6 separate regions of the Homo sapiens genome follow, and regions 1, 2, 3, 4 and 5 are each linked to region 6. Evidence: promoter capture Hi-C in 16 types of primary human blood cells and fetal thymus (Javierre and others, 2016). All regions are on one chromosome and are shown on one strand. The core of a region is centred on a gene start or on the middle of the fragment in contact, and the rest is flanking DNA. Distances in the headings are between cores, read along the strand shown.

Region 1 (4,437 bases), core at 238-2,737, 420 kb after region 6:
TATAGTATTATAATATATAATATTTTATATATATTATATATATTATTGTTATAATAATTTATAACAATTATAACTATTGTTATAAAACAATGATAAAGAAAGCTTTACATATCAAAATGTATGTAACATAGACGAAGCTGAATTCAGAGGGAAATGATAGCCTTAAAAATGCTTACATTATTGAAAAAGAATGACAACAAAATAGGTATTCACATTTATTTATTTATTTATTTATTTATTTTGAGACAGAGTCTTGCTCTGTCACTCAGGCTGGAGTACAGCGGCATGATCTTGGCTCACTGCAACCTCCAACTCCTGGGTTCAAGTGATTTTCACGCCTCAGCCTCCCGAGTAGCTGGAATTACAAGCGTGTGCCACCATGACCGGCTAATTTTTGTATTTTTAGTAGGGACGGGGTTTCATCATGTTGGCCAGGCCAGTCAAACTCCTGGCCTCAAGTGATCCACCCACCTCGGCCTCCCAAAGTGCTAGGATTACAGGCATGAGCCACCGCACCCAGCCTAAGTATTCACTTTAATAAGCTTGTAGAAAAAGAACAGAAAAGCTACCCAAGGTAATTAAGAGGGAGAAAATAGTAAAGATAAAAGCCAGAACTTAATTACTTAGTAAACTATAGAGCTGAGAAATAAATTCAAATGTGTTTTAAACAAGCAAGCAAAAAAATTCCTTAGTATGGCATTATAAAACCCTTCGTGGCTTGGCCCTGGTGAACCTCTTAACTTTATCCCTTGACAGTGTCCCTGCACACTCAACTCCTGCCATTCTGAACTATAGACTCCTTGCTATTTGAACTCAGCAACCTGGCTGATGCAGATAAAATTTTGGAGATAGGGCTGATATCCCTGATTCTTTGAGCTCCTGTCACTTCTTACCACTGACATTCACTAGTGAAGTCCACCTGTCCTGTAAGGCTCAGCTCAAAGGTCCCCTCTTCCAGGTAGGCTTTGTGGATTGGAACAACTACAACACAAGCCAGCGTGGGAGGAGCACCGCTAGAGTGGGTGAACCCAACATGTGTAGATTAACAGGTTAATGAGCGAAGCTAAACCCAACTGTGGGCATGGAGGAAAGCTGGCTACTGGAGGTGGCATTTGAGCTGGTTCATGGAGGAGAAATGGGATTTCAGTCTACTGGAGCAGGGGAAACAGCCCCCCAGGAAGAAGGAAAAGCATGAGCCAACATGGGGGTGTGTGTATGAAAGGACAGAGTGTTTGGAGAATGGTGGGACGTTCCATGTGACTGCAGCGTAGAAGGCTGAGGAGGAGTGGGGACAGGTGAGTGAAGAAAGGTCAGCAGGGCAGGTCACACAGGGCCCTGAAGGACACTGCGCCGAGGGCATATGCTTCATCCTGCCACTGGTGATGGGGAAGGGTCAGAAGTATTGTGAGGCTGGGACTGCCAGACAGTGAGTTGCCTGAGCCTCACCCTCACTGAGAAGGAGGAATGTGGGGCGGTGGATGGTTTGTGGGAGATTCCATAAGCTGGCAGGCTGCCCAGGAGGAGCTAGGGGGAGATGGGGTCAGAGGCCTGGGGAGTGGGGAAGGGGCCCATCTCTGAGTTTGTTTCTCCTCCCTGACCCATTTCCTGGTTCCTGCACACCAACACCCTCCCCAACCCTCATCACAACCAGGTAGGGTCTAGGAGGCAGCTCCTGGCAGCTACCCCAGTCACCACAGATAGAGTCACAGGGCTCCATCCATTTGTCTGTCCCAGCCCCCAGAGGGGCCTCTGTGGTCAGGTCTTTGTGTCTGCACAGTGGCCCTCTTTGTCCTGAGCAGCCTGTCCCCATCCCACCTCCCTCCTGCGCTTCTCTCTCTCCTGCCTGGGTCACAAAAAGCACCAGCTTCGAAGAGAGCCAGGCCAGAACTCTGATCTTGGCTTCCCCCACTGAGTCTCTGTGTGACCCTGAGCAAGTTACTTTGCTTCATGGATTTTTAGTTTTTTGGTTCTGTGAAAAAGAGCTGTTGTAAGCAATCAAACTCCTGGCAAGGAGTTTGGCCTGCCACCCGGTGCTGAGACCCAGATAACAAATCATGAACTTGGAGACTCTTACCTCATCCTCATGCTGTTCACTGGACCTCTTACCACCAGCTCCCACCTCATTCTCACCCTCACCCTTTTGGCCAGTGGCTACCATTCTCCCACTTGACAGACAAGGAAACCAAGGCCTGACGACAGGGCTGACTTTGTGGGCATGTGACCTGGACAGTAAGGGTCATGATTTGAAGTGTTAAATACTCTGCTATCACCATCTTGAAATTCTTAATTTTTTCTTATTTTTTCATTCTTTTGTTGGAAATTTTAAATTTTTGAATGAGGGGCCCACATTTTCATTCTGCTCTGGGTCCCGCAGATTAAGTAGCTGGTCCTGCTTGAGGGGAGATGGAACAGAGGCATGCCCAGGCCTGGACTAAGCTTCCTGCATCCCAGGCGGCCTCACTTGGGTGCCCGCATCCTGGCATGCTGAGAGCTAGAGTTTCCAGGCTGCGTTTGGCATCAGAGCCCTGGACCCTGCCCAGGAAACCTGAGGAGCACAGTTCTCGGCTGGCAAGGGAAGGGAGGATGGTGCAGGTCAATGCAGCAGTTCAGGGAGCAAGTAAGACAAGGCTGCTAGAGCCAGCCCAGCCCTGTGTAACTGGAGCTGCCAGTGTGGGTCCCAATGCCATGACCCAGCCATAACTCTGGGAACTCAGCAGGGCCTTCCTTCCCATCAGGCTGCAATTCTGGGGCCAGGAGACCCACCGCAGATTCACTGCTTTGGACTTTCGCTTCCCCTTTCTGAACCTGTTTCTCTACATGTCACATGAGAATAAAATAATGCCTATCTCACAGGGTTCTGGAGAATATTAAGCGAGATACCTTAAACTTAATGACTAGCACAAAGAAGGTGACCACTAAAATAGAGTTCTTACTCATTCACTCATAATATATTGTGACAAATGTTCAGGGACAGGGGTCAGGTACGGTGGCTCACGCCTGTAATCCCAGGACTTTGGGAGGCCAAGGCGGGTGGATCGCTTTAGGCCAGGAGTTCAAGAACAGCCTGGCCAACATGGTGAAACCCTGTCTCTACTAAAAATACAAAAATCAGCAGGGTGTGATGGTGCACACTTGTAATCCCAGCTACTTGGGAGGCTGAGGCAGGAGAATCACTTGAACCCAGGAGGCGGAGGTTGCAGTGAGCTGAGATCACGCCACTGCACTCCAGCATGGATGACAGAGCAGGACTCCATCTCAAAGAAAAAAAAAGAAAAATTATTCAGGGACAGTGCTAGGTGTTGGCCATTTAATTGTGAACAGAATGGAACCTGGCTCTGCTCTCAGAGAGATCCCTGTTAGAGGGGGAGACAGGCAGTGATAGCAATAACAGCATGGTAAGTGGTGGGGCACCTGGCCTGGGTCTTCGAGGACCCATGGTGGGGAGCCAGAAGCAGGGGGCACTGTGGGCAGAGGGAGCAGCAAGAGGCAACAGGAGGCTGGTCAGAGGTGAGAGGTGAGGCAGAGAGGCAGGGAGGCTGGAGTGGCAGGCTAGAGAGCTAGGCTTTATCCAGAGGATGGTGGAGCCACCAGAGAGTGTAAGGCAGGGTATGGCATCAAGGGGCAACAGAGACACCACTGTACCCTGGGAAGGGGGGATTGGAGCCTGGGCCAGGGCAGAGGCTTCATCCCCAGCATGCATTTTCAGAGCAAGTTTTCCCAGGGGCAATGAGAGAAGTTGAGAGAAGGAGGATGAAAAGGCCTGAATGAGCCAAATACCTCCTCAGGGCTGGAGAGACAGGAAGCCTCCTAATACATGGGAGAAGCTGAGGCTGGAACTTTGCCCTTCCCCTCCTGATCTGCTACTGCTAATGGAACCCTCCTCCCGCCCCCATGGTTCCATTACCCACCTCCAGGGGACCATTACTGTGCCTGGGCCTTCACCATTAGCCTGCCTTGGCTGCTTGGTTCCAGGGAGACTCCCTCGATGCTATTCCAGCCTTTCAGATGGCCTGTTGTGTGACGCTGGCTGTGTCTCAATTTCCGGTTTGATCAATGGTTTTACATTACTTCAGCCACAAAATCTTTCATGTGCTTGCAACAAATTCTTACCAGGAAATGTAAATAAATAAAAATACAAAGGCAAAGGTGCTCAAGTTGAAGTGGGATGGGAGTTCCCCAGGCAGCCCCAGGTAAGGGGGACTCTGTTGGGGGATTTGAAGCCTGCTGGGCTTGATGGCCTCTGAAACCCAGCGATGGGACTGCCTGGGGAGGATGTCAGGAGACGAAACTTCTAGGCCCTCATTGCATGGGATACTAACGCCTTGAGCCCAGACAGCTTGGGATGATGAATAAAACCATGAAAAAAGAATTTAAGGATAGGGTGCAGGGGCTCATGCCTGGAATCCCAGCACTTTGGGAGGCCGAGGCAGGAGGACT
Region 2 (4,678 bases), core at 945-3,444, 480 kb after region 6:
GTCTATAATTACTCAAACATTCTAGAAGTCTACAATTCGAACTCCAACTTTCTACACTCCAAAGCTGTAACATTCCCCAATTCTGGCTCCAATGTTGGAGGATTCTGGCCCTGGCTTTGGCAGTCTGACTCTTGTAAACTTATAAACTCCCAAGGAAGAGGTTACTTCAGCAGAATCATGTGAGAAGCCCCAGAAAAGGTCTCCTCCCTGCCTAAGCCAGCCTGGAGTAGAGGCAGGTGCCTGGTAAAATGGCCATATGCTCTCTGGGGTGGATGACAGTGAACCCAGAGGCCCCTCCTCATCAGAGCAGCAGAGTTGCTGGGAGTACCTCACAGCTCTCAGGGGACGGTGGCCCTAGAGCAGAGAAAGGTTCAGATCTTGGATTGTAGGCACCCCTCAGGATGAGGGAATTGTGGAGTCACTGGGCACCTTGCAAGGCCATCAAAAGGAAGGAGAGAGAGAACAAGAAATGGGGCTGAAGAGACCTCAAAGGCAAACCTCATTCTCTCTGAGAGACCTCAGGTTGTAGAAAAGACTCCTGTGGAGCCAGCAGGAGCAGCATCGTTGATGCACAGCCATGTCTGAACTCAGCATAGGCTGGGGGGTGGAGAGCTCCAAAATTCACAGTGATTAGCTTAAAACCTTGCCTTGAGCTGGCGACAAGCAGGACTGGTAGCTGACTGAGCAAGCTGGGGACAATCCTCCCATAGAAACCTTTGCCTACTTTCTGTGAGTATTCTGACCAGGACTTATGTGGGATGGCTGAAGAGGGTGAGCCAGACAAACCATCTGTGTTCTTGGGGAAACCTGTTAGCTTCTCTGGGAGGGGCAAAGGAAGGGCTTGGGCATCCAAGGACTCAGCTCTTCCTCTCCCATCTCTTTCCTGGTTATGAAAGCTCTTCACATGCAACTTGCTGCTGAGCTAAGCTAGAACACTATGTAAGCTGGCTGGAAGTGGGTCCATGCATGTGATGGTGCCTGCGTGCCTGCCGTGGGTGGTGTGTTCCCAAGTGTGGCAGGTGCCAGGGCACGTGTGCATATGTATGTGTGAACCTGTGTGAGTTATGTGGAGCTGTTTCCGGGGCTGGGTGTGCTGTGCATGCACCAGTGCAGAATTGCACCCACAGGCATGTGCTCCTTACAACTCTGTTAGGTCTCTGTGGCCTCTCTGTGGTTTCCTATGATGGAAGGCAAACAGCAGACCCCAGACTCTGGACAGTATGAGGGGCTCAGGCTGCAGAGAGGGAAAACCTCTGTGGCTCAGCAAGAAGGCCTAGCCCTGGCCAGACATGGTGGCTCACGTTTGTGATCCCAAAACTTTGGGAGGCTGAGGGAGGAGGATCGATTGAGACCAGGAGTTCGATACCAGCCTGTGCAAACTAGAAAGGCCCTGTCTCTACAAAAAAAAATACAAATTTAGCCAGGCGTAGTAGCTTATGCCTGTAGTGCCAACTACTTGGGAGGCTGAGGAGGATCATTTGAGCCCAGGAGGTCAAGGCTGTAGTGAGCTGTGTGTTTGCACCACTGCACTCCAGTCTGGGTGACAGAGTGAGACCCTGTCTGGAAAAAAAAGATGTCCAGTCTCCTCCTGTCCAAGGAGACCACCAACCATGCTTCCTGCAAGCTTGAAGTGGGCCAACTCTTTTTAGGATCTGATCTGAATCCCAGAGGGACCACATCTCCTCCCACGGACCAGGGCTAGGCAGCCTCCTGTTTCAGTCAAGAGGGCTGAAGGTGGTGTTTTCCCTCCTGACTCCTGGGAGCAGCAAGGGGCCAATGGGCGGTGGCCAGGGATGTGCACGAGACCATTCCTGCCTGCCAGGGGCCTCATTACAGGCTACAGAGACCCTTCTCAGCCCTTGACTCATGTGGATCGGAACAGCTCCATTCCACAGCTGAGAAAACCAAGGTTCAGGAAGGGGTGAGACCCACCCAAGGGAGTAGCCAGTACTGAACTGTGAGCCCAGCCCAGAGCCAGGAAGGAAGACACTAGGACTGAGCTAGCAGTGGCTGCCTGGCGGCAGGGCCTCGGGGGTAGGACGTGAAGGTCAGCCTGGCCAGCTAGTGGTGAGCATCACCCAGCAAGGGCATGTGGGGTGTAAACTGTAAAGCACCTGATTTATTGTAAAGGACCCAGGGGCTTCCTGCTGGTGACTGAGTGCAGGAGGGTGGCTGTGGAGGGGTCAGTGCCCACAGGCAACGGAGGGTCTAAGGGGCTTCAACCTTGGGCACTCCTCCCCTCCCCGTGAGGAGCCTACACCCTGGGCTGAGCTGGGAGAGCCTGCGCCTGAAAGTTAGCCCCTAAGGCTTCCTCCTCATCTTATGTAACTGCTTTTATTCCTGGGGAAAATCAAGAGCCTGGGAACCCCACAAATCTCCCGTGACATCTGGGACAGTTTGAAGATTATGATAAGGATTTCGGAGCCTGGGAAAATAAGGCCTGTGGACTAGGGGTTTGCGGGGCTCCCCAGGAGCAGCATGTGTGTGGAGCACATGCAGAGGCCCGGGCCTGGGCAAACAGGTATGTGAACAGGTGTACACACTCCAGAGCCACTCACAGAAACACACACACACATACTTAGGCACAATTCCAAACACCTGTGCCTTGTGAATGCATGCGCATCTTCCAGCACAGGTACACATGGCTGACAAGCCCCCAGGCAGACACTGTGCAACCAGCATTCATGTCCTCCCCCAGCCTGGGGGCCTGACTGGGGTTGGTGGCTCTCAAGGCTACCTCAGGGCTATGCCTCTGCCTCCCGGAACAAGCTTTCCCAGGCCTCCTTCCCAGCCTTGTCTCTTTCCCGTCTCTCCCCCCACACCTTCTTACCACAAGGACAGAGGAGGGGCCCTTCCTGTCAGCTGGCTGGGAGCAGAGGTGGCTTTGTCTTTTCGGAAGAACTGGTTCTGTGGAATTTGTGCTTATTTCCCATCAAGGATCAAGGACCTGCTCTGGGGCTACCTCAGGGCCCCACAGGATGAGGGGCTGGTTTTCAGATGAGTTTTCTGCTTGCCTGTCATCTGGATAGTGTCTAAAAATTTGCAAACTGCCTTCTTGTCAGTGTCTTGCTCATTCTTCATGACACTCCTGATATGTAAGTGCCTTCACTTCCTCTATTTGGCAGATGAGGGAGCTGAGGCCAGAGAGGGATGGGACTGCCTGGACTGCCTGAGGTCACACAGCAAGCTGAGGCAGGGTTGACCAAAACTCTCATGAGCTGGGGTTGCAAGGAAAATGCCTTCAGCTTCCTGGGGCTTGGGGTAGGAGAATTTGGCTGTCAGAGCCTGGAGGGTGGGGCAGGCTGGCACTACCAGGTGGGCCTGCCACAGAAACACCTCACACTCCTTTACCAGGAGCTGACGGGGGGCACAGCCAGCCCCTCACAGGCCAGCACTGTGCTGGGAGGCTCACCCCTGAACCTACCTTTGTGGACATGCCAAGAGAGGGCAGGAGAGGGAGCTCTGCCTTGCTGTGTGACCCAGGCAAGTCCCGACCCTCTCTGGGTCCAGCGCCCTCTCGCCTACTGGGATATTGGGATTGGGGATTGGTTGAGGGATGTGCTCCCTCTCTGGACCACAGAGGAAGCAGAGAGCTTCCCCAGGGCTGGGAGTGGGGCACAAGCTCGGGATGCTCCCTGCCAAAGCGTTGGTGGCCCTGAGTTGCTGCCTGTGCCCAGGGAGTCCCAGTCTTCGCACTAGCCTGCTGCTGAGATCCACTGAGGCAGAGCCTGGCACAGAGTGGGGGCTTGGGGCCTGGGGGAGGGTCTCCTCCAGGCTAGGTGGCTGGGAGAGGGTGATCTGGCAAATCTAGATGGGGCCTGTCCACCTGTCCGAGGCTGCAGCCCCCTAGCTCTCCGCCCCTTACCCTCCTTTATGTTTCTATATCGCTGCTCTTATCACTATCTGGCCTGCTATATATTTACTCATTAACCAAAAGAAACTAATCTCCCCTGCTAGACTACAGGTGTCTCAAGGGCAGGACTTTGTTTTTTGACCTCAAGTGCGTTGAACATTACCCGAACAGAGTAGGTGGCCAATAAGTACCTGTAAGAAAGAAGAGGAGGAGGAGGAAGCAGGAGAGTCATCTTACAGACGGGGAGGGCCCACCATGGGCCCAGGTAGAGCCGCCCGGGCTGCCTTCTCCTCATCAAGCCCAAGCTCAAGGATGGATTGGCGCTGGGGAGGGGAGGATTGCCTGGGGTCAGCCTTTCCCCCCCGGCATCACCCTCCATCTTCGGTGCTGTAGCAGGACGAGCCGCGGACAAAACCCTTCAGACACTGAGATAGTGAAGGGAGTGGCTTTAATCAGCTGGGAGCATCGGCAGGCTAGCATCTTAAAATCTGAGCTCGTCAGGTGCTCAACTTCTGTCCCTTTTAAGGGCTCACAGCTCTAAGGGGGTCCACGTGAGAGGGTCGTGATCAACTGAACAAGCCAGGGGGTACATGATAGGGACTGCGAGCACCGGTGGTCAGAGTGAAACAGAACAGAACGGGAGGTTTCACAATGTCCTTCCATACAATCTCTGGAATCTATAGATAACAACAGCTGCTAGGTCAGGGGTCGAATTTTAACTACCAGGCTTAGGTCAGGCAGGCCCAGGCCTGGTTTCGGGTCTGGTTCCTTGGTTTCGGGTCTGGTTCCTTGGTTTCAGGTCTGGTTTTTAGGCGCCGGGCTACC
Region 3 (4,537 bases), core at 437-2,936, 370 kb after region 6:
GGAGACAAAACAGGACCTTTTGTGGCCCAACAAAGGCTGCCTCTCCTAACATCAAATGGGATGCAGAGCTGAAGAAAAAGGCAACATATTTGGGAGGAGTGAGACGTTGACAAAGGAGCCCCAGGGCACAAATGGAAGAAGGTCCAGTCACTTTCCTTGTGAGGTTCAAAGTTATCTGGCTGCTAAGATGACCATCCCCAGTGAGCCCCACTTGTTGGAAGGAAAGAACCCCTGAGCCCCCAGTGGTGTAGGAAGGAGCCTTGGACTGGTGGCCAGGCTTAACTCTGGGGCTGAGGACCTAGAAGCCCCTCTGGACCTTCCTCCTGGTGAAACTTGCTGGAGCTCAGGAGTGTGAATGAAAGCTTGGATTTGGGGGTCATGTGTTCACAGCTGCTGGGACTCTGAACAGTAAGATGGAGCAAGACTGGGACTCAAGAGTGCCTTTGTTGGAAAGGAGCTAGTGTAGTCCCTGTGGGTTTTGAGCACTCCTGTGACATGGGGGAAGGCCTCCAGAGGGCCAGATTGAACTTCCTGCTGATAAAATCTTGTGGAGCTCAAGCAATTAATGGGGAAAAAATTTGGCCATAGTTTTTACCTTAAGCTGGTGGAGGGACCACACAAGTTACATGCAGTTCTCAAGTTATTTGGTTCTCTAGTTCCAGAGGTGGGGCAGGATGAGGGGGACCAGGAAAGTATATTATTCCTTTTTGCACCCAAGCCAGCTCAAGACAACCCTGGGGAATGGGAGGGAAAGTCTCTGGGCCTCTTTCCTTACTTAGGTTTCCTTCGTGGGTCCCCTTCAAGAGCCGCTCCTCATCTTCAGGATTCCACCATGGCCCCTTGCCTATGTCTACAGCCCATGATAGTACTCAAGTACTCAGGCTATTTCCTGTTCACTGTCCCTACAAAGCTTATCCAGCCTGGGTCCAGGTTCCTCTGTTCCCCATTAGGAGCACTGAGCTCAGCTAATAGACCAAATTGACCGAAGGAGCTGGTGACAACAGTTGGTTAATCCAGCCACTAAGGGCTTCACATGCATCCCTTCCCTGACTCCATTCACATTTCACCAAGGATCACAGTTACTCCAAAGGCACAACAATCTGAGCAAAAGGTTGCTGGAATGTGCTGCTTCAACAGCCTTTCAGCTCTGTTGTGCAAAGAAGGTGTAATTCTACTGGTGGAATTTTAGGCACTTTGAAAGAATGTTTGGGATATAGTTTCTTGCAAATAGGCAACCTTTGCTCACCCACAGAGAAGACAGCATTTTCTGCCTACACATGAGGGAGCCTACGTGAGGCCCAGCTCCAGTTGTGACCTTCAGTTCCACTCCCTAGGCCAAGATGCTAAATTCAGATCACCCATTAGTTCAGAAGCAGGTTAGACCAGTCACCATAAGCATGTGCCTGGGCAACCAATCTTGTTTATGCAAAAGGAGTCTTTAGTCTGCAATGTTTTGCACACCCAGCACACAAATGAAAACAGTTCTTGACTACACTTGGAAGGAAAAGAAAGAAAAGCAGGATAAAGGGCAAGATAAGAGAAGATAGCAAGTGCCAAGGAACTGAATCCTATCAGCCACCAAACCTTCATTTAAGCAGCCTGCTCATCTATGACCTACATTTATGAATTCTTTCTTGCAACCAACCAATCAACCTTCATTCAACTAATCAATGAATGAACCAGTCTTCATTCAGTCAAGCATTCTGTATTTATTAGGACTACTAATTTCATTCATTCATTCACTTTCTCTAACAAATCAACCTTCATTCAACCAGCAAATAATAAGTAGCTATTCACTCTTCATTTATTCAACTAAGTATTCCAAATAGCAAAGCTCAGGGCTGCAAGAGACCTCAAAGACCTCAAAGTTCAACCCACTGCAACCTTATAGGAATTCTGTCCATTACAACCTTGCCAAAATACACAGCTCATTACCTTCAAAGGTTGCCTGGTCTGTTATGGAGCAGCTCTGACTGTGAGAAAAATATTTTAAAAGCTGAAATGGAGTCTGCCCTCCTTGTAACATCCATACCTGGTTCTGATACTTCCTTCCAGGCCACCCGGAATAGCTCAGCTTCTGTGCTTGGAGACCTTGTCTGCAGGCAAAGGTGGAGATTATGTCCTCTGTGGCCCCTTCTCTCCCTCCCCTGTCCCTGTGAGTGATGTTCCCTTGTTGTTCCAGTCTCTCTTCTCTGGTCAGGAAGGTACCACTCAATCCAGGGCTTTCTCCTGGTTTGGGATTTGGAATGGGAGCCCACATTCTAAGTGTAATGTGGCAAGGGGACAGTCACCCCCAGTTCTGAATGGACTAAGCTCCAGAGTGTTTGTCATGACAGCCATTTTGCTCAAGGGCTCTCCCCTCACCCTGTTCCACAACCCTCCACCTCCCTTATCTACAGCTGAACGCCTCAGAGCAGCTAAGCTATGGACTTGCTGGAGATTTCAGAGCTGGTTCAACCCAAAAAGCTTGGGGCCCAAACTGGAAGACAGGGATTAAGTTGGGCCAGCCATTCATTCCTCTGAGGAATTTGAACCTGAGATCTGAGGAGGAAGCTAAGCTGTTGGAAACAGGAGATGAGGCAGGAAGACTCAGAAAAGAGGGAGTGGGTAGCTGCCTGAGTCAGTGCAGGCTATGAGAAAGCAGAAGCTGAGCTAGGGCAAGGGACAGGAGGGATCCACTGCATCTGTAGGGTTGTGGGAGCAAGTGACAGCAAAAAATGACCAATTTAAGCAGAAAAATAATGTGTTAAAAGGACTCTGGGTAATTTGCATAAACTGATCTCCAGTTAAGGGGTGATTTAGCAGTGTGGTATATATTTGGTTCTGAAGAATTATAACACACGACAGGAAAAAAATATGTTTCAGAAAATGTAGGTAATTCTGTAAAGTGATGAATATGTTAATTAGCTTGATTGTGGTAAGCATTTCACAATGTATACCTATGTAAAAATATCACATTGTACACCTTGATTATATATACATTTTATTTCTCAATTATACCTCAGTAAAGCTGGAAAAAATATGACTTCAAATTAATATTTTTCCTTCTGGGTACATAATTTAAAAAATTATTTGATATTATAATTATAAATACATACAATATACAAAATTTTACAATATAAAATTATATATTTTATATTGTATATTTATAATTTTTATGTTGTATATTTTATAATTTTTACAATATAAAAATCATTTTATATTGTAATTTGACATCTATGTAATGTACAATGATTTAAAAATCAAGTCATTTTTCTCATATATAACAAAAATTCAGATCTGAAATTATATAATGATACTACCATAATCACAAGAAAATTTACAATTTCCTCCATGCCTTCTAAGGAAAATATACCTAGGTAGGTTGCAGGTTTTTGGTTTGCTGAGAACGAAGTCTTGTTCAGGGTCAGGGTGATGGCCTTTCCTATGCTAGATCACAGCCTTATATATCACGGGTAAGGAAGAGAACCCCAGAGCTAATTGTGCTATAAAAAAAGTAGTGTGGGGAGAGGGCAGGAAAGGTGGAGGTGGGGTTCACTGGTGAGGAGAGGAGCCTGGGGTTGCTTGAGAGGAGAGAGAGTTGCTGTGGACTGTTTGATGTAAAACACTACTCCATCTCTAGACAGGAATCTACAATACAATAACCATTCCTCACTAAGGCCTTGAGGTAAAGATTTACTTTGGGGCAATTCTAAGAGAAATGTTGAGTCTTGCTCTTTGGCGAGGGGTATAAATGGAGGCACACACCTAGGCTGCATTTTAGGATCCTGCCCAAGGGTTTTTTGTTTTTTTTTGTTTTTTTTTTTGAGACAGAGTCTCACTCTGTCACCCAGGCTGGAGTGCAATGGTGCAATCTTGGCTCACTGCAACCTCTGCCTCTGGGGTTCTAGCCATCCTGGTGCTTCAGCCTCCCAAGTATCTGGGATTACAGGCGTGTGCCACCATGCCCAGCTATTTTTTGTATTTTTAGTAGGGACGGGGTTTCACCATGTTGGCCAGGCTGGTCTCGAACTCCTGACCTCAAATGATCCACCTGCCTCAGTCTCCCAAAGTGCTGGGATTATGGGATTATAGGTGTGACCCACCGTGCCCAGCTCCTGCCCAGGTTTTTTGATGGGCCATTCAATTCTCAGCTGAAACTGGGTATTAATCATTACCCTATGTAAAGAACCAAAGGTGAGCCTCCCTCTCCATCACTGCCAAATTACCAGGGCAGGCGATCCAGCTGAAACAGAGATGGTGTTGGAATGTTTCCCCAAAGCCAGGGGGAAGTTATATCTTTGAGGTCAGCATTCTGACCTAAGAATGAATTTTTCAGAAGGTATATTAATCAGGATTCTTTGGGCTGCAAATCATGGAAATTCATCTCTAGTGTGTTAAGGAAATAAAATAAAGCCCAACCATAAAAGGGGAGTTTGGAATTATTGGCTCACATAAATATGAAAACCAGGAGTATGGCTAGCTTCAGGAATGGCTAGATCCAGGCACACAAGTCAAGTCACCAGGAATCTATCTCCATCTCACCACTCTTTCTTCC
Region 4 (4,943 bases), core at 175-2,674, 490 kb after region 6:
TATCTGCTCCCAATCCCCAATAAACACATACTCTTAAGTACAAACTACAGCTTGCTACATGAATAGCCTCAAGCCAAGACCCCCGTGCACCCAGTCCTCTCTGTGTAGACATAATTGAACCACGTCTGGAATTTATTTGTTCATTCACTCAACAAATATTTATTGAGAACCTACTATATGCCAGACACCGTCCTAAGTACATGCAGCAGTGAAAAAAAAACACGAAAACCCCTGCCCTGGTGGAGTTTATGTTCAGTCATGAGAGAGAGACAATAACCAATAAATAAGTAGAACAGTGTATTAAAAGATTTTAAATGCTAAGGAGAAAAATATAGCAGAGAAGGGGCGTAGGAATCACACATGCACATGCGTTGCGTAGGGGTTTATAATTTTAGCTTAGAGTGGTAGGAGAAGGTCCCATGGAGAAGGTATCATTCGAGTGACCACCTGAGGGGGTCTGTCCTACGTCCCTTTTTTGAGACAGGGTCTCGCTCTGTAGCCAAGGCTGGAATGCAGTGGTGTGATCATAGCTCACTGCAGCCTTGGCCTCCCAGGCTCAAGCGATTTTCCCACCTCAGCCTCCCAAGTAGCTGGGGTTACAGGCACACGCCAACACATCCAGTTAATTTTTAAACATTTTTTGGTAGAGACAGGCTTTCTCTATGTTGCCCAGCCTGGTCTCGAACTTCTGGGCTCAAGTGATCCTCCCGCCTTGGCCTCCCAAAGTGCTGAGATTCCAGGCGTGAGCCACCACACCCGGCCTGTCCTGTGTTCTTCATGCACACTCCACAGCAGGAGCCACTGTTGCCTGCTGACCTCCTACATTGCACTCTGAATGAGGTAGTTGCCCCTTACTTTGATCTCTTCCTCCCAGGCCACCCCTTGGACACCCACAAAGTCCTCTTCCTCCCACACTGGACTGGCCACAAACAGGCCAGTTTGAGGGTGAAGATTTGGGGTTTGGCGACAGGCAGTCCTGCTGATTGGAAGATCACTGACGGATTGGTGGCCCTGGCAAGTAACTAAGCTGTTGGGGGCCTTAGTTTCCTCCTCCCAAAAGAAGAGACTATGCCCCCCTTACAGGCCCCAGGCAGGCAATGAAACAGGACAGAGGGTAGCAAAGGGTTTTGTCTTCAGGTTTGAAAACAGCCACAGACCACGGCCTCATCCTTGAGGATCCACCACTAGGTCTCCTGGGACCTGGACATGTGCCTGAAATTGCCTGGTGAGAATGAAGACCAATAGATGGATGGTCTTGGGACAACCTCTGCAGGGTGTCCTGGGGCAGCCAAGCTATATGGCCCCAGAGGCAAGCTGGACTGGTGTGGGAGAGCAGTCACTAGGGACAGATCTTGGGGCTTGGTGTGACAAAGCATATCTCCCAGTGAGCTTTCTCAAGGTGGAATGCAGTGGCCTAGGAGAGGAGTGAGCTCCCTGCAATGGGAAGTATGCAGGCAGGGGCCAAACAAGCCCAGTCAGGGAGGCTTCAGAGAGCCCCCTTCTCTGAGGGGATGATGGGGAGACCTCTGGGTCAGGTGACCTTAAGGCCTCCCTAGCCCTGAGGGTCCAGAACTCAGAGGCCTGTCATTGACCCCTGGGTCCAGCTGGACGTCTTATCACTGCCAGGTGGGCTCAGGCCCCAGGAAGAGCTAGGGATGATCAGAACAGGAATCAAGGCAGGGGCTGCCTTTCACGGGAGGGGAGGAGTTCCCTGAGGCTCCCCTTCCACACCCAAACCTTACCTGTACGAGTTGTGGACAAAACTGCCTACCTTCGGGCCTCAGGGTCTGCCTGGGAAATGGGCAGGATCATAACCCACAATAACCACTTGGCGGGGTTAGTGGTCTGCCTTTCCTGAGGTGGGGACTGGGGGACCCAAGCAGTCTCAGAGGTGCTACTCCTGAACCCATTACCTTCATTCTCCTTGACAAATCTTCTCTGTCATCAGTCAAGACAAAGATTTAAAAAAAAAAAAAAAATGGAACCAGGCAGCACCGAGGACAGAGCCCCGGCGCTCATCTTTATAGACTGGATCCAGTCATCCAACATTTCCCAGTGCCTCTTGGGCCAAAGCCTATACTGGTCTCTGAGGCTCCAGAGGCAAAGCAGACCTTGTCCCCTGTTCCTAGCAGAGTTAGAGAAGGAAAGGGAGGGAGTCTGACACCGCCCCTTCGACTGGTCTTCTTCTCTGCCCTGACTCTTGACCTCCATTTCTTTGTCCTTTCTTAAGCCACTCTTCCTGAGAGACAGGGTATCATGGTGGATTTATAGTGCACTTTGGGCAAGTTCCTAACCTCTCTGGCCTCAGTTTTCTCGTAGGGAAATGTCACCTGTCTTCCTGGGCACAAGGTGCAGATCTACAGGCAGGACTCCTAGTTTCAAGTGACAGAATCCTAGGTTAAATGGATTGAGGCAAAAAGGGAGTTTATCAGCTCATGACACCAAAGGTAAAACCTCAGGCACAGCTGAAACCAGGCACTCAATGCTGTTCTCAGGAAACGATGCATCCCCATCTCTCATCTCTGCCATTCCTTGGCTTTCTATGTGGATAGTCTCCTCCCTGGTGGCAGTATCTCCGTCGCCCAGGACAATGCCTGGAACTTAGTTCACTTGGCTCCAGCAGCTCCTGCCTCACTTTCTACTAACTTTGCAAATATTGTGGAAGACCTGTCTCCTTCCTGATGCCCCAGTAAAAGCGCCAGAATTGACTCTGAGGCATGCAGTGAAGGTCACTCCTCCACCCTGAGCCAGTTACAGGCCTGAGGGGCCCACTCTTCTCTCATTGGTAGGCTTAGATCACAGACCCATCACTCCCAGATCCCCAAGACTCTAGAGGGGAGAAGGGGGATCCCCCAAAGGAAAATCAGAGGGCAGCGTCGTCATCATAAGAGGGGGTCTGGGAACTGGGTGGGAAGAAGCTACAGAGGGGCTGAACAATGACTGCCAGGCTAGCCAGGTGGCTGGACCTGGGCCATCTCTCCCCCCACGGACTGGAGCCTGGTTATCTGGGAGGATGGGCGGATCCTGAAGGCACTAACTGTGGCCATCAGCCAACTGCACTACTTGCAGCTAAGCAGCAGGTTCCTTCTCAAAGGGAGAACCAAGTGGCCTCTCCCACAAGGAGACAAACAAATGGGACAGCCTGGTTGTCCAGGCAAGGCACAGAGAGCTTCTCCCACTAGCTCCAGGGGAGAGTTTTTTAGGAGGCCCTGGGGATCTCCTGGAGCACTGGGTGGGAGGTGCAGTGGCCCTATAGGCGTGGACTTATACAGGCTGGGCACCACAGGCCGTCCCTCTGCTCACCGGGGGCTGCCCTGTCACAGCTGCTCCCTGGGCCTCTGTGCTATCCACACAGTTCCTCAGTCTCAGGGCTGCCCTTGACCTCTCAGCCCTGTGCCCACCGGGGCCGCGTGGTCTCTAACCCTCTTCATTCACATTCCCAAGAAAGAACCTCTTGCTAACTTTGCTATGCCTCAGTCACCTCATCTGTAAAGTGGAAACAGTAGTTGTGAAGAGTGAATGAGACACGGCACATCAAGCATTTTGCACAATGCTTGGTGCATCGTTAGTGCTCAATGAATACATGTGTCCAGGTTGTGGTGGGACTTGTGGGTGCACTCTTCGGCAACTGGGGCCCCTCATACATAGTGGGGTCTTGGGAGATGCAAGTTCCATCTTTGCTAAGCTTGAAGAGGCTGGAGAGAAACCAAAGGAAGCAGCCCCAACCCTCAAATTCCCCAAAGCTGCAGCTTCCTCTTCCTTTCACTGAAAATGGCTGTTTCAGTTTTAGCTTTAATTCCTGTTGAGTGGGAGGTTGAGAAGGGGAAGTGGGAAAGGAGTAGAAAAATCAGGGTCCCTGCCTTCCACGTTCCCTTCTGCCAGGTTTGTCCTTCTGTAGCCAGCCAGATGCCACAGGTAGGACCAGAACTCCTCCAGGTGAGAGGACTCTGCTTCCGGCCCTCTGTCTTCTGGGTGCCAGGGAGGCACTGGCTTTAGGAATCTGGCCTCAAGCTGGCCTCAGGTGGGCTCCAGGGGCAACCCTGCTTCAGGCTAGAGGCTGCCCAGAGTCAGGATTGGGTTGATGACTGGGGCACAGAGGGTATAGTGACCCTGTATAGTAGGTAGGTACCATAAGTAGCCCTGTTTACCCAGGCTCAGAGAGGGTAGGTGGCTCTCCCTAGGTCACACAGCAAGTTGGTGGTCGATCCCAGCCTGTCTGACTCCTCAGGGGAAGGAAGCGAACTCTTGACCCCTGACATCCTGTGCCCTTTCTGCTAACTCACCGGCCAGGGGCCAAGCAAGGGGGTTTCCAGGCCTTTATTTCCCAGCAGGCAGGCAGGCCAAGGTTAGGAAGCCTCTTCCACATCCAGCCTGGTCTGAGCTGGTTCCTGCCTCAGCTGGCTGGCAGACAGTGACTCAGGCTTCCAGCTCCTGCCTTTGGCCAACAGGTCCCCTCATCCATGCTAGATATGAAGGCCTCAGGGGATTGGGGAGGCTGTGGGGTCATGTAAAGTTTATCCTGAGACCATAGGATCTACGCAGCCTGAAGGGCTAGGCCCCTTGTCATTTCTTCCTATGTCCATACTGAGTCGCTCCTGCTCTAGAACTGACCCCATGGTTGTCGCCTGAACTGAAAAAAGGAAACTGGAAGAGGCTGTCTCTGCTGTGAGGGGAGGGGCTGCCGTGTTTTGCCAAAGGTGTACCCGGGTGGAGATGGGCGGTGGATGCTTGAGGCCAGGGCCTCTATGTCAGACAGACAGGGCGTGGTGCTGACCCTGTCGTCCCTGCCACGTCCCCAGTGGCTCCTGTGACCACATCGACCAGGGTGAGGACCTGAGAACGAGAGCTTCAGCTCATCTGGGGAGGGTGAGTGGAAGGAAGGTTGGAGAGTGGGTCAAGAGGAACTGAGACTGGAAACCCAGTCCGGAGGCTGCTCAGTGCCA
Region 5 (4,969 bases), core at 1,835-4,334, 400 kb after region 6:
TCTGCCCGCCTCAGCCTCCCAAAGTGCTGGGATTACAGGTGTGAGCCACCGTGCCCAGCCACACCTGGGATACTTTCTAGAGGGAGGATTTTAGCTTCTGAGAACAAAGGGATGGAGTCCTTCCTCTGTCACCAACGCTCTGGTCCTTGGTTTCCTCCCCTCGGAAAGGGTGTGGTGATACCTGCTCACAGACTAGCTGGGGGTACAGAGGAGGAGAAAAGGGCCGGAAAGCGTGCTGGGAACTCTGGAGTCTGCAGTGCCCACAGGGCCGCCACTCGGCTGGGGCCTAGGTTCTCTCCCATGAGAACCTAGAGGTTGAGCAGCTACCACAGTCTTCGCCCCAGCCTGCCCCCAGCCAGTAATGTTGCAGAAGAAAAGAGGAACAGATCTTGAAGCTGACGTGGGCGAAAGGGAAGGGAAATGCAAGCAGGGGCCACGGAGGGAAGCTATGGGTCTCCTTCCCCCACCTGCAGCCTTTGCTGCCTCTGTTACTACCTTCTGTCTTTCCAAATCCTCCCCTCATCTCCAGCTCCTGCTTCCTCCCTGACCCTAGGGGGCTAAATAAGATGGGACACTGAGCACCCTGTGGGGAGGTGAGCTGTCTGGTGGGCTTTGTTTAATTTTCCAGAGCCCCCTCTCTACATATAACCAAGGAACTTTCTAAAGACAGGGCTGGGCTTCAGTCCTCCAGGGGCAGCCCTGTGAACTGGGCTCAGAAAACCTCAGATTTGAACCCTCAACCCCATATCTGTCTGTGTTACCCTGAGCCAGGTGGGCCTCCCTCTGAATCCAGGTGCCTCATCCTCACACTGGCCCCATGAGGCCTTTGCAAGCTTCTGCCTGGTTCCTGGTTCTCATGGTGCCCCGGCCTTGTGTGTGAATGAGTGTGTGTGTGCACACTGGACTTTGCTGCACATGGTAGCCCACAATCAATATTGAATAGCCCACCTCAAATCCTTTTTGAAAGGCTGAGTACCTGAATAAATAGATAAATGTTGACTGAGTCTAAAAACACACATGCAGCCTGAGAAAAGCCTTGTTTATCCAGCCTCCCTAAATAAGGAGTCAATTCCCAGAGCGGACTCTCCAGATGATTCAGGATGGAGGAACCTAAAGATGTGGAAGAATAGAGGCCTCCTAGGTGGAGGGAACATCGTGAGCCACAGCTGAGAGCTGGAGGATACTTGGCTGCAAGTCGAACAGCCACATGAGATGAGCTGATAAGGCTGGCAGGGTCCAGAGCCTGGAGGGCCTCGAATGCCAGGCCAAGGAGCCAGACCTTATCCAGAGGGCAGTGGGAACCATGGAAGGGTTTTGAGCAGGGGAGTGACAAGGCTGGGTGTGTGGCCAGCAGGGTCCCTCTCTGGTTGCTGCATGAAGCATGGACTGAAGGCAGACAGCAGTGTCAAAGGGCCCTCTGCTTTTGAGGTTCAGGAGGAAAAGATGAAGGATGAAGTTGGGCAGTTCAGCGGAAGGTGAGAGGTGGACAGTCCCCAGGATAGCACAGAGGGGTGGCCAGGATTTAGTTAAGGATGGGAGGAGGGCAGGCAGAAAATGAGAGGAGGCTTGGTGGCTTCTGGGTTCCTGGCCCAGGTGACCGGCTGGTTGGTGATGCTCTTGCTGAGGTTGTGACAGGAAGAGCAGGTCTGGGGAAAGATAAAGAGTTCATCAGCTTTGGACATGTCAGGGGAGCAGGCGTCCCAAAGGAGGATTGATTAGAGGGCTGGAGCCAGGTAAATGTGGACAGATTTTCCCTGAATGACATTTTACTGGATGACTTTAAAGTATCCCAAGTATCCTGGGGACAGTCTTTGGCACCAACTGCCTATGGTCCCCAAGACAGATAGGACCAGGACTTGGGTCCCAGAGAAGGGTCAGCAAAGGGTCTGACTAGGGTGAAGGGGAGGGTCTAAGATCCTTGGCTCAGGAGTACCCCCAGGGTAATGCAGGAGTGGCTGGCACAGAGGTTTAGAGGTAGATAAGGGGTAGGAAAAAGCCATGGGTGGGCTGAGCTGGCAAGCCTCAGAGACCAGTCAGCCCAGAACCATCATTGTACAGACAGACAGAGCCAGGCCCGGCAAGGCCTAGGGATCTGGCAGGTCACAAGTCAAGGCAGACAGGTCATCAGCTTCTGGCTCAGTGCTGTACCCTCAGCCCGACTGGCTGGGAGGGGTCAGCTCCGTGTGGGCCTGGGATTGAGCTCCTGGGCCACGTCTAGGTGCTGTGGGCTTGTGTGGTTCGGGTGGAAGCACTGGGGCAGGCAGATGAGAGCCCCACCCTGAGCAGCACCCTAAACCCACTGTCTGTCAGTCTGCCCCAACCCTGTGCTTTTACTTTCTCAGTCCCAGGACCCAGGCTGGGCTGTAATCAGAGGAGGGAACTGGAACCTGGACCGGGGGAACACAAAGCTCTGCACACAGCCAGTCTCCTGGCAGATGCTGAGATGCTCATGGGTGGGTGGGGGACTGTGGCATCAGGGGCCATGTTCCACACAAGGTGAAATGCAGTAAGGGCAATTTCCACAAAGCTTGTTGAGCCAGGTACTGTTTTATGATCTTGAAACAGTGAACAGGATTTATGTTCTAACTAGACATTGACAATAAGCAAACTAATACATAACATAACAATGGAAAGATGAGAGGAAGAAACAGAGCCCAGAGGGATGGGCACCTTCAGTGGGGAGCGGGGAATGGCCACTTGACAGAAGACCCCTGCAGGCCTGATGGGCTGAGTGATTTTAATTAAATCTATGTCCCTACCCCCGACCCATGTACCCCCACCCCGCCTGCCACCAGGCACTCCACCTTCTCCTCAGCTCTAGCTGCACCACTGGGAGTTCCTATTTTTTTTTTTTTTTTTTTTTTTTTTGAGACAGAGTCTCACTCTGTCACCCAGGCTAAAGTGCAGTGGTGCGAACTTGGCTCACTGCAACCTCCACCTCCCGAGTTCAAGCAATTCTCCTGCCTCAGCCTCCCAAGTAGCTGGGATTACAGGCTCCCGTCACCACACCCAGATAACTTTTGTATTTTTAGTAGAGACGGGGTTTCACCATGTTGGCCAGGCTCGTCTTGAACTCCTGACCCCAAGTGATCTGCCCGCTTCTGCCTCCCAAGGTGCTGGGATTACAGGTGTGAGCCACTGCACCCAGCCGCACCATTGGGAGTTTCTGAGGGCTGCCCTTGACTGGACCATTACCAGGGCCTGAGGAGGACTGTGGGGAAATGAGCCTCTCACAAGGTCTAGTCCCTCCCACAAAGTCCTGCCCAAGAGCCACCCCAACCTGCCCACTTGGCTCCTCCAACCTGGGAGCCAGGTAAGAGCTGAGGAGCCCCAGGGCCTTGGCACTGAGTCAGATGTAGCCTGGGAGGTGGAGGTGACTCACTTGGGGGTGTCAAGATCCAGGAAACCACAGCCCAGGGTCAGGGCAGAAACCTGGAGACTCCCTGCCTTGCCTTGCCCCAGAATGATGAATAGGAGGGCCCTGGCCTTTCCTAAGAAGCCCCCAGCCAAGGGTCCTCCTGCTGTCATGAAGGCCCAAGTTCCAGTCAAGTTGTTGAGAGGTGCCCAAGGACCTGCCAGTGCCTGCTTCCTCTGGGCCTCGGCCTCCTAGTCCACTTATAGTGGGGAGCAATGGGGCTAGATAAGCTTCAGTGTTCCTAGCAGCTCTGAATTTCTGTTTCGTTGAGTATGTTGCAGGAGGCCCACAACCTCTGATGGTTCCTGGGGGCTCAGGGCAGGGGTGAATGACAGATGCTGAAAAGCGGGGGTCAAGGGAGGGTTTGCAAGGTTTAGCAAATGTCAATACAGGATATGTTGTTAAATTTGAATTTCAGATTAGCAATGAATAACTTTTTAGTATAAGCACATGTCCCAAATATCCGTTATGTTAAAGAATTTTTCACTGTTTATCAGAAATTCAAATTTGACTGGGCGTCTTGTACTTTCTCCGGCCATGCTAGGTGGGAAAGGTAATTGGAGCTGGGACTTCATCAGAGGAAGGTCTTAGACTCAGACAACTGGAGCTCTCACCACCTCCCTTGCTGCCCTCAGGGTCCCTTATCCATGAACTTCTTGATTTGTTGGAAGGTAGGGGGATGAGGGAGTGAGAACCCTGGGGTTAGGGGAAACTAAGAGCTATGTAGAGAGGCAGAGAGACCCCAAGACCCCAAGAGGCAGCACCGGAACTCTTCCTGGCCTGCACTCAGCTAACCTCGCCACCTCTCTTCCCCAGAACTCCTGCAAAGCTCAACCTCATTCCTACTGCCATACCCTTGCTTGTTCCAGCCCTGCCTCTTTCCATCCTATGCAAACTTTACCCACAGCCTCTGCCAGGAGCCCTTTCTTGGCTATCCTTTAGCGTTGTGACTTCCTCCTCTGGGTTCCCAGAGTGCTGTCAGTCACCCTCCTCCTCATGGAGCTGTTCAATCAATGGAGCACCCTCTCTGGAGGAGGCTTTGGAGCAGACTCTGGGCAGTGATTAGGACAGTGGAGCCGACAGTGATCGGGACAGGCACAGCCCCTGCTCCATGGAGCACACGGTCTGGTGGGGAGGCAGACACACAATCACAAAACAGGAGAGAATGAATCGCCCTTTCACTGGGACCAACTGGTCCATGTCACTGAGGCTTTATGCAGGCAGAGGACACGTTCTGTTGTACTCGGGCCCTACCACAGAGCAGGCTTCAGTGAATATTAGTGGCATAAGTGAGAGTGCAATGATGCAACTAAAGCTGGGGATGGTGGGGACGCTGACTAAGTCTGAGAGGTCACCATGCAAACAGCCTGAACTCGGCACCTCCGGCCGTGGCCTGGACCTGGTGAGGCTTGGCATCATGGCATGCCATTGCTCATGAGAATCTGGCCCTGCAAGAGTCTGCATTTCCAGGGGTCAGGGACTGGATCTTCCTCTCCTCTCATTCCCTCTTGCCCTGGCCAATAACCTGACACAGGAGATGAATTGATAGAGAGC
Region 6 (4,400 bases), core at 1,092-3,591:
AAAAAAAAAAAGAGGTCCTTTTCCTTCTTTAGCCTCAGTTTCTCTGGCTGAAAAACAGAAATGATAAGTGAAGGCCCAGATAATTAAATGCTTGGAGGTGAATCCAAGATCCACCTCCAGATAATTCCATTGAATTATCTTGGATACCTTTTTGTTGTTGTGTTTTGTTTTGTTTTGTTTTGTTTTGAGACGGAGTTTCGTTCTTGTTGCCCAGGCTGGAGTGCAATGGCACCATCTCGGCCCACGACAACCTCCGCCTCCTGGGTTCAAGCGATTCTTCTGCCTCAGCCTCCCGAGTAGCTGGGACTACCGGCATACACCACCACACCTGGCTAATTTTTTTTTTTTTTTTTTTTTTTTTTGAGACAGAGTCTTACTCTGTCAGCCAGGCTGGAGTACAGTGGCGCCATCTCGGCTCACCGCAAGCTCCGTCTCCCGGGTTCACGCCATTCTCCTGCCCCAGCCTCCCGAGTAGCTGGGACTACAGGTGCCCGCCACAACGCCCGGTTAATTTTTTTTTTTGTATTTTTAGTAGAGATGGAGTTTCTCCACTTTGGTCAGGCTGATCTCAACCCCCAACCTCAGGTGATCCGCTCGCCTCAGCCTCCCAAAGTGCTGAGATTACAGGCGTGAGCCACCGTGCCTGGCCTATCTGGGATATCTTGAAGGATCTTGGATTTCTATTTCTACATATACCTGCCTTTCATGACTTGCCTGGGGAGGCCCAATCTGTAATGAGACCTCAGGGTCTCCCAGCCCTTCCCCCAACCTACCCCCAAAACCTCTAAGAGCACTCTAGAGAGAATCAGCTGCATACAGCCCAGCTCCACCGCTCCAAGGGTCAGAGAAAAGTCCCCTTCCCTGGGGTTAGCTGCATGATCCTGCAGGTGCCATGGTGTGCCTAGGTGCCACCTCGCTTCACCTGGCTGGGGAGTGGCTCCTAGACCTCAGCTCAATGCGCATCACTTCCCCTTCTCATCAGCCAGGCCAGCCCAGGTATCACCTCCAGCTCCACTGCCCCCAGATGGAGTTACCTGAGTACCCAATTCCTCCCAAGCTCAGAAACAGTGTCCACTGCCTTCCCACTCCTTTCCATTCAGAGTCTGTCCCCTTAGTGCTGCCCCCTCATCTGTCACACCTGGGTTCTTTCCCTTACTTGGGCCACTGACCTGAGAAGCAGGGTCTGTACAGCTCCAGCAACACTCTCCTCTTCCTCCAGAATTCTCCAGATCCTCCTCAGCTTCTTGGCTCTGGTGCTCATCTCAACACAGCAGGGTCTTCCTCCATCAGGCCAAGGTGGGGGTAGGAGAAGAATTGGGAACAGGGACTCCCCTAGGTTCTCAGGGTACAGTCAGTCAATCTAAGCCTGTATCCAACAAAGACACTGACCCCTGGGGTACAAGGAAGGGCTCCAGGCCCAAAGGCAGGAGGATTAGGCTTTAGCTCTTGCTCACAGCCTGCTGAGACCTGGGGCAAGCCCCTGTCCCTCTTTGGGCCCTCAGGTTTGCAATTTGCAGAATGAGGAAATGGGTTCCTCAATCTACAATCACCTGACTATAATAATATTTTGCCTTTATATACCGCGTGGGTAAATTCCTGAAAGTAAACTAAGCTGTTTTCACCCCTGGATCTCATTTGATCCTCCCAACAGCCTGTTTGCATTTACAAATGAGAAAGCTCAGTTCCCTAAGGGAACAAAATTACCCAAAGTCACACAGCAAGCTGGAAGCAGAGCCTGGGTGCAGTCCTTGAATCCTGATCCTTCCCTGGTCCTTTACTCTCTATGATGCTGGAAATCTGCCTGACTTCCTCTAACCTGTTGTCCCATTTGTAAAAGGACTGTTGTGAGGACTGAATTAGGAGAGGCGATGAAGAGGGTCATTCCTTGTGAATCATAAAAGAAAGGACCACAGAACGATGACTGGACCGTTAGGTTACTATTTATTACGGTTATCTTCGCTCAGGCGCCCCCACGTGTCGATCCCGAGACTCTCGGCTTGCGCAGGCGCTCTTTGGTGTTTACAGCGGCCGCGAAGCCCCGCGTTTGCGCGTGCGCTTCCCGCCCGGGACCGCCCAGAGGTCCCGGACTAGGGGCGGACTAGGGGCCGCTCTGCCTCCCGCCCCCTAGTGGTTGTGGCCGCTCTGTCACCACGGCTCCCGGGGCCTCTGTCGGCTCCACTTTGGTTGAGACGTCTCCACAGCCCAACAACGGCGGCGATCTGAGGAGAGGCAGGAGAAAATACGGCGCGCTCGGCATCGTCCTTCTGACCGGGGACTCCAGCATCTCAGTCATCGCGTCACCAAGCCCCACGTGCAGGTTCTGGCATCCATCATGGCAAACTGGAGACCGCGGTGAATTCCACCGGAATGGCGCGCGCATTGCCACATGGGAACTGTAGTTCTTGGCTAGGACCTTTCTGGGGCTGGGCCGCTGGAAAAACTACATTTCTCAGGAGCTCAAGAGTCAGGCTGACAGAAAGGGGGCCCGCGGCATGTTGGGAGATGGAGTTTGGGGGGTTCGTGCTAGCAGGGAAACAGTGAAGCAATGGAGCCAAGTGTTCTGAGCCTGGGCCTGTGGGTTTGAGTTGGGCAGGAGTTACACAGTAGCTCTTATAAGAGAGGAGTAGCATTGTTGCGGCTTTTAGAAAGAATGCTACTTATTAGTTGTGTGATCTGAGCGATCAAGACAAATGCCCCTTTATCTTTTTTATTTATTTATTTTTTGAGACAGGGTCTCTGTCTGTCAGGCTGGAGTGCAGTGGCCCCAGAACTGCTGGCCTCCCGCCTCACCCTCCCAAAGTGCTGGGATTATAGGCGTGAGCCATCAGGCCTGGCCAGATGCCTTTTTATCAACTACGATGGACCTTAAGGTTAAGGTTAAGGAAACAAACGTTGCCTACCTCAGGGCTCAGCTGTCAGCTGGCATGGCAACTTCTTAAATTTCTACTGCTGCCAGAAAAACCACACTCTTACTAAACCCCTAGCAATAGGAGCTATCATGCAAATTGTCAGACTCTTCTTTACTGAGATTTACAACTCAGACCACTACAACGCTGATCGACAGAGGACAGGCCTTACAAACATTCTTTCCTGATAAGTAACTGCAGACCTCAGGCCAGTTTCAGCAAGCTCATAGAGACTGCACGCAAACTGTGTTTGTGTCCTATAGTCCACCTTATGATGCAAAGAACCAAATTCCACCTCACTTTAACGCAAAAACCCCATCCCAAAGTGAACATGGAACATATGTTACAGGTGTTTACCCATTGTGCATGCACTCACATCCCCTCATAAATATGTATAGCTTTTCCCCAAAACCTGCTGAATATGTATGATTATTGTGAAATACAGACCCTGTGAGTCATAAACCAGCCTAGGCCGGGAGTGGTGGCTCACGCCTGTAATCCCAGCACTTTGGGAGGCCAAGACGGGCGGATCACGAGGTCAGAAGATTGAGACCATCCTGGCTAACATGGTGAAACCCCGTCTCTACTAAAAATACAAAAAAATTAGCTGGGTGTGGTGGCGGGCGCCTGTAGTCCCAGCTACTCGGGAGGCTGAGGCAGGAGAATGGCATGAACCTGGGAGGTGGAGGTTGCAGTGAGCCGAGATCGCACCACTGCATTCCAGCCTGGGCGACTGAGCGAGACTCCGTCTCAAAAAACAAAAACAAAAAACAACCAGCCTGCCTTTTCCCTATACAAAGAGAGAGCACCTTTGGTACCTACAGGAGAGTGTCTCTTTTCAGTTTGCAAACTGATGTCGCTAATGAAACTGCCCTCTACTATTTAGGCATCCTGGTGTTCTAGAGGGTAGCAGTCTGCACCTCTCACAGGGCTTCCTCTTCCATCACTCCTCAGAGACTGTATTCACAGGGGTCACCTGTGTGTGAGATGCAGTTTGTCTTTTTTGGGGGGAGGGCAGGGGCTGTTCGTTTGTGGTTTTTTTTTTGTTTTTTGTTTTTTTTTTTGAGACGGAGACTTGCTCTGTCATCTAGGCTGGAGTGCAGTGGCATGATCTGGGGCTCACTGCCAGCTCCGCCTCCCGGGTTCATGCCATTCTCCTGCCTCAGCCTCCTGAGTAGCTGGGTCTACAGGCACCCGCCACCACGCCGGGCTAATTTTTTTTTTTGTATTTTTTTAGTAGAGATGGGGTTTCACCGTGTTAGCCAGGATGGTCTCGATCTCCTGACCGTGTGATCCGCCCACCTCGGCCTCCCAAAGTGCTGGGATTACAGGTGTGAGCCACTGTGCCCGGCCTTGTTTTTGTTTTTTTGAGACAGGGTCTCATTCTGTCACCCAGGCTGGAGGCAAGACCATTGTTCACTGCAGCCTGGACCTCCTGGGCTCAATCTATTCTCCCACCTCAACCTCCTGAGTAGCTGTGTTTATAGGCACACA

What was found. The method cuts DNA at HindIII sites, captures the fragments that hold promoters and counts their contacts. A CHiCAGO score of 5 or more calls a contact.
Region 1: a fragment that was not itself captured here is called in contact with the fragment with the promoter of STARD10 in region 6 in 2 of 17 cell types (erythroblasts and neutrophils); the score reaches 5.8 in erythroblasts.
Region 2: a contact is called between a fragment that was not itself captured here and the fragment with the promoter of STARD10 in region 6, in 1 of 17 cell types (M1 macrophages). The highest score is 5.8, in M1 macrophages.
Region 3: a fragment that was not itself captured here is called in contact with the fragment with the promoter of STARD10 in region 6 in 4 of 17 cell types (naive CD4 T cells, M1 macrophages, M2 macrophages and 1 more); the score reaches 6.3 in naive CD4 T cells.
Region 4: a contact is called between a fragment that was not itself captured here and the fragment with the promoter of STARD10 in region 6, in 2 of 17 cell types (M1 macrophages and endothelial precursors). The highest score is 6.4, in M1 macrophages.
Region 5: a contact is called between a fragment that was not itself captured here and the fragment with the promoter of STARD10 in region 6, in 2 of 17 cell types (M1 macrophages and M0 macrophages). The highest score is 7.7, in M1 macrophages.

What each region holds. Positions count from the first base shown.
Region 1 is chr11:73,211,935-73,216,371 of GRCh38, forward strand. LOC124902709 (a long non-coding RNA gene) reads right to left here. Exons shown (of 3, transcript XR_007062773.1): 2 at 3,909-4,105; 3 at 2,922-3,254. Among named protein-coding and RNA genes, the nearest start is that of P2RY2, 4.1 kb to the right of the region's middle. The HindIII fragment of the contact is 1,894 bases long and covers 541-2,434 here.
Region 2 is chr11:73,267,061-73,271,738 of GRCh38, forward strand. It overlaps a transcript of P2RY6 not described here. Among named protein-coding and RNA genes, the nearest start is that of P2RY6, 2.9 kb to the right of the region's middle. RefSeq lists enhancers at 2,930-3,723, 3,300-3,349, 3,724-4,516. The HindIII fragment of the contact is 1,145 bases long and covers 1,623-2,767 here.
Region 3 is chr11:73,162,675-73,167,211 of GRCh38, forward strand. IUR1 (imatinib upregulated ABL suppressing lncRNA 1) reads right to left here. Exons shown (of 4, transcript XR_950294.3): 2 at 2,033-2,096. Among named protein-coding and RNA genes, the nearest start is that of IUR1, 18 kb to the right of the region's middle. The HindIII fragment of the contact is 1,556 bases long and covers 909-2,464 here.
Region 4 is chr11:73,284,612-73,289,554 of GRCh38, forward strand. All of the region lies in intron 1 of P2RY6 (pyrimidinergic receptor P2Y6), which reads left to right. Among named protein-coding and RNA genes, the nearest start is that of P2RY6, 15 kb to the left of the region's middle. RefSeq lists enhancers at 4,106-4,155, 4,707-4,943. The HindIII fragment of the contact is 4,518 bases long and covers 1-3,683 here.
Region 5 is chr11:73,189,139-73,194,107 of GRCh38, forward strand. No RefSeq gene overlaps it. Among named protein-coding and RNA genes, the nearest start is that of IUR1, 8.7 kb to the left of the region's middle. The HindIII fragment of the contact is 1,118 bases long and covers 2,526-3,643 here.
Region 6 is chr11:72,791,706-72,796,105 of GRCh38, forward strand. It overlaps STARD10 (StAR related lipid transfer domain containing 10), which reads right to left and starts at 2,342. Exons shown (of 7, transcript NM_006645.3): 1 at 1,170-2,342. RefSeq lists enhancers at 467-966, 2,098-2,667. The HindIII fragment of the contact is 8,350 bases long and covers 1-4,400 here.